Regions from separate parts of the Homo sapiens genome. Here region 1 is linked to region 2. Evidence: promoter capture Hi-C in 16 types of primary human blood cells and fetal thymus (Javierre and others, 2016). All regions are on one chromosome and are shown on one strand. Each heading gives the region's core, a stretch centred on a gene start or on the middle of the fragment in contact. The rest is flanking DNA. Distances are from core to core; before and after follow the strand shown. Region 1 overlaps PLA1A (phospholipase A1 member A). Region 2 holds the start of GPR156 (G protein-coupled receptor 156).

Region 1 (3,433 bases), core at 783-3,282, 660 kb after region 2:
ATGAAAGGTACTTGGCTTACTGATATCCAGCCACAATCTGCAAGGCTCTGTGGGCACCTGCAGGCCTGTGCTGGAATCCTGATGGCTGTACCTAGCTGTGTGACTTTGGGTGAGCCAGAAGGAACACCAGCTAGTGGCCACGGTTTTGGGAGTGAAATGCACTCCTTCCAGCAGAAACTTGTAGTGCCTCACAGCAGAGTTCATGTCCAACATCCCAACCCGAGAAATATCTCCAAACTCACATCTGATCTCATCACTGTCCTGTTTAAAACTCCCAGTGGCTCTCCAAACTACTCTCAGGATAAAAACCTGTCCTTCAAGGCCTGGCAGGGTCTGGCTCTGACTTGCCTCTCCAGCCTCACAGCATCCCCACAACCCCAAATCTGTGCTCCAGACACACCAGAGGTGTCACATTCTCTCTAAGCCTGGCCTGGGTAGCTCCTGGAAAGCCTGCTCATCATTTCCTTGGACTCAGTCAGACTCTGTCTTCTATGCTGTCACTCTCAGGGCATTGCTCACTCATTTAAGTGTGTGTGCACTGGTCATTTCCCTGTTTGCTCTGGACTGATCTATTCCCCTGCAGGTTCCCCCACCAACAGGTTCCAGTGAGGTCTAACCCAGTGGAAGCATGCTCAGGTGGGTGGCTGCTTTGGGCAGGGGTTCCAGAGGGGCCGCACTTCCCATGGGTTCAGCTCCTGCCAAGCAGCCTTCCCTGTGGACCCAGCTTTGCCAACTCCACTCCTGCTTTGTCCCTCTAGCCTAGGGTTGTATTGGCTCCTGTTGTGATTAATCTCTGCATTGTGTCCCCATCTCTGTTTTCCAGCTCATCCAACACACTTGTAATGAGTTCACTGTGCTAAATTCCTTCTCTTGGACCTCCTCTGTTTTCCTGACCGGACTCTCACTGAGACAGTGACATTATCTGACAATCTGTCTCCCGCTGGCTTGTGAATAACTAACCGGTTGCTTTTTAAAGAAGCATGCACCATGGCTGCTGACTTCCTATCCCCTGCAGGCTGTGGCTCCCTACAGTTGGGGTTCCTTGCCCTCTCACTTCAAGCGTAGTCCCACCAGCCCCCAAGCCCAAGTCTGCCCCAACAAAGGAAGGGAATGACTACCCCCAGTTTCAGGAATCACCCAGCACCAAGCCCTCCTGGCCGCTAGTCTGGCCCTCAGCTCGCACTCCGTTGCTGACTGACCCTGTGCCTCAGATTCCATTCTGGTAACTGACCCAGAACTGCTCTCCTTTCCCAGGAGTGGGTGCTCTCCAGGCTCTGGCTAGCCCTTCCTGGGCTGGTGACTGAGGCCCTCCTCCCTACTGACATCCCTGATACCCGCACTGTCTGGATTCCAGAGTACTGTTTCCTCTCAGGGACCTGATTCCTATGTCCTCTCCATCTGTTGGGACATGCCATCCCTGCTGCCTGCTTGCCCTGCCTACTCTCATCTGAATCTGCTATACTTGGACCCACTACTGAACAGCTCCTCAGCATGTGTCTGTGGCTGGATCTATAGTAGGTGCTGCCCCCAGCCAAGCCGGCTGGGCCCATGCATCAGCAATCACACAGTCCCTGACCTGGGATGTCCATGTGTGTAAAATGAAAAAGTAACCAACTCCTAAGGGGAGGAGTCAACCAGGTGGGACACTTACGTACATGGTGATCTTAGATGAAGAGGTGATGTTACTGCTAAGGAAGGTAACCTCGATGTTGGTGTCCTTGTTTCTCAGTTCCTTCAAGTGAAACTCCACGAGGCTGTGATGCACTAGGAAACCAAAGCACAACAGAGACTGGCCAGAGGGCAGAAGGTGCAATGGGCAAAAACCCCAGAGAGCAGCAGTGTGGTTGGGAATCTTGGCTCTATCTCTTAGTGGCTGTGTGCCCAGGAGCAGATCACCTATAATCTCAGGTCCTCAGTTTCCTCAAGTGCAAATTGAGGATAATAAAAATAGACACTTGGCTGGGCGCAGTGGTTCACGCCTGTAATCCCAGCACTTTGGGAGGCCGAGGCGAGTGGATCACCTGAGGTCAGGAGTTTGAGACCAGTCTGACCAACATGGTGAAACCCCATCTCTACTAAAAATATAAAAATTAGCCAGGTGTGGTGGCGGGTGCCTGTAATCCCAGCTACTCAGGAGGCTGAGACAGGAGAATCGCTTGAACTCAGGAGGCAGAGTTTGCAGTGAGCAGAAATTGCACCACTGCACTCCAGCCTGGGCGGCAGAGCAAGACTCCGTCTAAAAAAAAAAAAAAATAGATACCCTAGGTCTGAAATAAGTGGGTTAATATGTATGAACTTCTCAGGACAGTGCCTGTGCCTAGGAAGCATTCAGTAATGTTAGTTTTTGTTATTTTGTAATACTAATGTTTTACTTCCCCTTGTTTGCTGACATATTCATGGTGGGATGATCTTGAATGAGCCAAAATGCATCTATCATATACGGCTATCTTTTGTTTGTGTCCCCTCCGAGTTCATGTTTAAACTGAATGCTCTGTGCAACAGTACTGAGAGGTGGGGCCTTTGAGGGAAGGGATTAAGTCATGAAGGCTCTACTATCATGAATGAAATAGTGCCTTATAGAAGGGCTCAAGGGAATTGGCAGGGCCCTTATTTGACCTCCTGCGTTCTGCTGTGTGTGAACACGGTATCTGTCCCCTCTGGAGAATGCAACAGCAAAGCACCTTCTTGGGAGCAGAAAGTGCAACCCTTATAGACATGGAGTGCCGGCGCCTTGATCTGGGACTTCCCAGCCTCTAGAGCTGTGGGAAAATAAATTTCTGAGCTTTGTAAGTTACCCAGTCTCAGGTACTGTGTCATAGTAGCACAAGTAGACTAAGACATAAACTAAAGGTTTAACTCATAAGGTCAGGCGTGGTGGCTCACTCCTGTAATCGCAGCACTTTGGGAGGCCAAGGCGGGTGGATCACCTGAGGTCAGGAGTTTGAGACCAGCCTAGCCAATATGGTGAAACCCTGTCTCTACTAAAAATATAAAAATTAGCCAGGCATGGTGGCAGGCACCTGTAACCCCAGCTACTAAGGAGGCTGAGGCAGGAGAAGCATTTGAACCCGGGAGGCAGAGGTTGCAGTGAGCCGAGATGGTGCCGTTGCATTACAGCCTGGGTGACAAGAGTGAAACTCTGTCTCAAAAAAAAAAAAAAAAAAAAAAAAGAAAGAGAGAATTAACTCATTAAATACAGCAACGGCCCTGCTCCCTCTCCACACACCCAGCGTCAGGGAAGCAGGCTGTGTGTGTAGGAGACTGCTCCTCTCCCTGCAGCCGCTGGTTACCTATGTGGCATCCAGACTCTCCCTTGAGCAGCATGGACACTGGAGCTCTCAAAGTGAGTGTCGCCAACATAGACTGGGTGTACAGCCTGGGCCATGGTGATACCCCTGGGACCTGCTGTCCCTCTGGCAAGAGAAGGTAAGAA
Region 2 (3,502 bases), core at 613-3,112:
GTTGTCCTGTCTTGCTTTTCCTTGTTCTCTGTGGGTCAGGTTGTTTCCTTGATTAATCCCAATGCGAGTACCCGGATGTTTCAGTTGAAGGTGTTGTATCTACTCGTCCCTTCTGTTCCTCTCCGTGAGAGCCATGTACATTACCTGCTTCTGGTCAGCCATCTTGGCCACTCCCCATCCTTATGAAAGTTTACACTGTATTACAATTGCACAGGAAAGTTACTGCAGGTTTGGGAGTGGGACAGAGGATAGAGGATGTTGGCTTGTTTTGTCAAGAGAGTGACATTCTTAAGTCTATGTTGGTGGTGGGGACAGATAGGAGGCAAGAAAATCAGTTAGGAAATTATTGAAACAATTCAGCCCCAGATAATCGAAGCTTATCAAGAGCAGCAGTGTGAGAATGCAGAGAAGTGGACAGTTGCCAGAAACATCTCAGAGGTAAACATGGCAGGCCTGGAAGATGAAAACCTTCAGTGCCTGGCAACTGAGGGGTTGGAAATACTCCAATCTCAGAAAAGAGAATACTGGGATTGGAGGTGGGGGCCAAGCTGGGAGAAAGATTTCAATGTCTTGCAGAATATAGAGAGGGGTTGATGAGAATAACAGCCGAAGAGCCCAGGGGAATTCCCAGGTTAAAAAAAAAAAGCCCCACAGAGATCAGAAGGGCAAATCCTCAATCTAGAGCCACAGAAGTGAAGATTTGGCTCTAGACTCTGAAGTCAGCTCTCCTACGGAAAAAAGATGGACCCAGGCCTTTTTAACTCAGGCAGCCCCCATGGAGGAGAGAGATGGTCCTCCTCAGTTTCTGCACGTTCCAAATGAAAGGGTCCTTCTGTGTAGAATGAGAGATCTGGAGAGTCCTGGGTAAAATCTCAGACATAATTCTTTCTTCTGAGAAACCAGCTTTTTGCTTACTGCCTTGAGGAAAACCTTGTCTATCTTTCTTTCTTCCTCTTGTTTTCCCCCTCAGTAGAATCCTGTGAAAAGAAGTCTTTGGGTATCACAATGTGTAAAACAGTTAAGAATGTAGCCACTGTCTTGTCACAGTGGGGTCTGCGGACCTGGCCTCTCTCTTCCCGTCCTCTACAACCAAAGATTTCCTCTGCGCAGTTGTAAAAATGTGGAATGTCCTAATGCACATAAATAGGTCTGAGATTTTAAAATAAATGAAACAAATATAATATGGAAAGTCTAAGTGGATTCCCAAGACCATTTCCAGGTCTCCCCTCTATGTTTCTCCTTGAGGGTGTCTTAAACACAACATCTCACACATATTTTTAAGCGGAAGACAGTGGGCTGGGTGCGAACATCTTGTTTGTGGCCTCCTGTAAGCATTCTTGGAAAAAGAAACGTACTTGTCTTTCTGATTATAAAATAAGCAAAAGCTCAACGTAAAGAATTTGGCAACTCCAGAGAGTATAAAATAAGAAAACTAATTGGTAACTCCGACGCCACTCCAGAAATAAAAATGAGCATTCGCGGAGAATCCTTCCAGTCTCCTTACCGAGGCCGGCTAGGGACCTGAATCTGAAGCTCCTCGCCCCGGGGCCAGCTCCTGCGGCAGCCGCTGGCTCGAGGCCCGGGAAGGGGCGCTGAGGGGAAGGCGCCCCCCAGGGAAGGTCTCTGAGGAGACGGCCGGAGGCGGGGCCGCCCCAGGGGACTCGGCGGCGACGCAAGGAGAAAGATCCGAGGAGCTGGAGGAGCCGTGAGGCGCGTGGAGTCTGCAAGGTCCCGGAGCCCTCCCGGCCCTCGCGGGAGAGCAGGGTCGAGGCGCGCCACGCGGGCGGCGCCAGGGAGGGGCGGGCAGGCGTGGCTCAGCCAGTGCCCCGGCCAGAGGCGCCCGGCGCCCCGCGCACACCTCAGAGGCCTGCGCCGCCGTCCCGCCGCCTCCACGCCAGGCTCCCGGCGCGGCGATGGGCGCGGGCCCCTGTCTCTGCCCCGGCCCGCCCCTTCCCGCCCCTTCCAGCCCCGCGAACGCGCGAGACGCCGGGGGACCGTGGGCGTCCTGCACATAGCAGCGGGCTTGGCGCTTCTCGGCGGTCCGACGCTGATGAGGTGAGCACAGCGACCTTAAGGATCCACAAAACTTCAAACACTTAATTATTAAGTGAAAGTGGAAAGGGGGAGGGGCTTTCTCTCCCTTTCCAGAATCTGGGCAGTTTGTTTGGAACCGGTAAAGAAACTCTCATAGGAACTTGAGGTGAGCAGGGGTCACGCATCAGGGATGCGAGTGGCAATTTCAGTGGAAGAGACGGGAGAGTACTGTAATTTGGTGTGAAGATGGGGCCGTGGGTTTTCTGCTGAATAAGCGACCGGCTGTGCTGAAAATGAGAGATCCCGAAACAGTTTCCCACCGCCTGTAGACTTTCCAGAGTCTCCTCACGCCGAATCTGCTTTGCAGGGCATGTTCACCCCCAGGGTGTAGAGTGGCGGGCACGATGGGCTCCCCCATGGAGATTGCAAAGTCCTGAAAAGGGACAATTGTATTGCACTGCGTCTGTTGAACTGCCTTGCTTCTGGGCATGAGGGAGTCACCTGGAAGCTGCAACATCCTTGTACCCTGGCAAGCAGCCCTTTCCAAGTTAGCTCTGTCAGAAACTAGAGGCCTCTAGGTAGAACTCAAGGTATCCATGTACTCGTGAAGAATACAAACCTTGAGGTTTTTAAAATCGAATTTTGTTAAGATTTCAGGATAGAAATCTGGGAAGAGAAGTCATGGCATGGCATAACTTACCCCTTTGTTAGTTTTCTAGGTACATGCATGCTTGAATTAGAGGTAAATGATGCCCTAGCCTATCATAAAATGTCTTTCCTGGTGTAGTTCTTTAAACCAGAATATGGAGGATAACATTACATTTTTGCATCCTAGATAAAAGGGAAAGATTTTCAGATGGGGCTTACACAGCGGGAGAAATTGTTGATATAGTTGTATTAGGCAGCAAGGCCTGCAAAGAAAAACTTCTTTTTCTCCACCAGTGGCTGAATTCTGCACAGAATGTCTCCTCGCAGTCTGGGTAGCAGCCCGGCTTGCAAAAACAGTGCTTCTTTCATTGCTGCAGGTGGGGCAAATGCGCTTGCGGATAAATGGCTGGGGAAGCGTTTGCTTACAGGTTAAGGCAATTTGAGTCTGGAGAATAAAGTGCTTTAGCAGGCTGTGCTTGAGTTAGGTGTCCCTTGTGAGGAATAGAGGTGGCTTTCTGGTCCCCATTTTGCCAGCCTAATTCCCCTTCAGGGACACTACTGTCTCTGGAATGTTCCCTCTGTTTCCCCTTCTCTTCCACCCCCAGCTTTTAGCTTCTCCCCATTCCCCAGTAAAGTCTAGAATTGAGCCTGGTCAGAGTCAAAGTTCTGATAGCCTAGGGATATAGAACTTCAAGCCTGGTGAAGGCAGAAATGAGACCTAGGAGAGACCCAAGATGGGTGAGATGAAACAACTTTCAGCCTAGAAGGCTCTCAAAAGAGTGGAAAAATAATGATTGAGGGAAACAGATTCTCTGGAAAG

The links. Contacts are between HindIII fragments. The CHiCAGO score rates a contact against its expected background, and 5 or more counts as called.
Region 1: a fragment that was not itself captured here is called in contact with the fragment with the promoter of GPR156 in region 2 in 1 of 17 cell types (neutrophils); the score reaches 5.2 in neutrophils.

Annotation. Positions count from the first base shown.
Region 1 is chr3:119,623,455-119,626,887 of GRCh38, reverse strand. It overlaps PLA1A (phospholipase A1 member A), which reads right to left. Exons shown (of 11, transcript NM_015900.4): 9 at 1,656-1,764. Among named protein-coding and RNA genes, the nearest start is that of PLA1A, 27 kb to the right of the region's middle. RefSeq lists an enhancer at 2,564-2,763. The HindIII fragment of the contact is 5,078 bases long and covers 1-3,433 here.
Region 2 is chr3:120,283,582-120,287,083 of GRCh38, reverse strand. GPR156 (G protein-coupled receptor 156) reads left to right here and starts at 1,862. Exons shown (of 10, transcript NM_153002.3): 1 at 1,862-2,055. LOC124909418 (a long non-coding RNA gene) reads right to left here and starts at 1,928. Exons shown (of 2, transcript XR_007096029.1): 1 at 1-1,928. The HindIII fragment of the contact is 9,811 bases long and covers 379-3,502 here.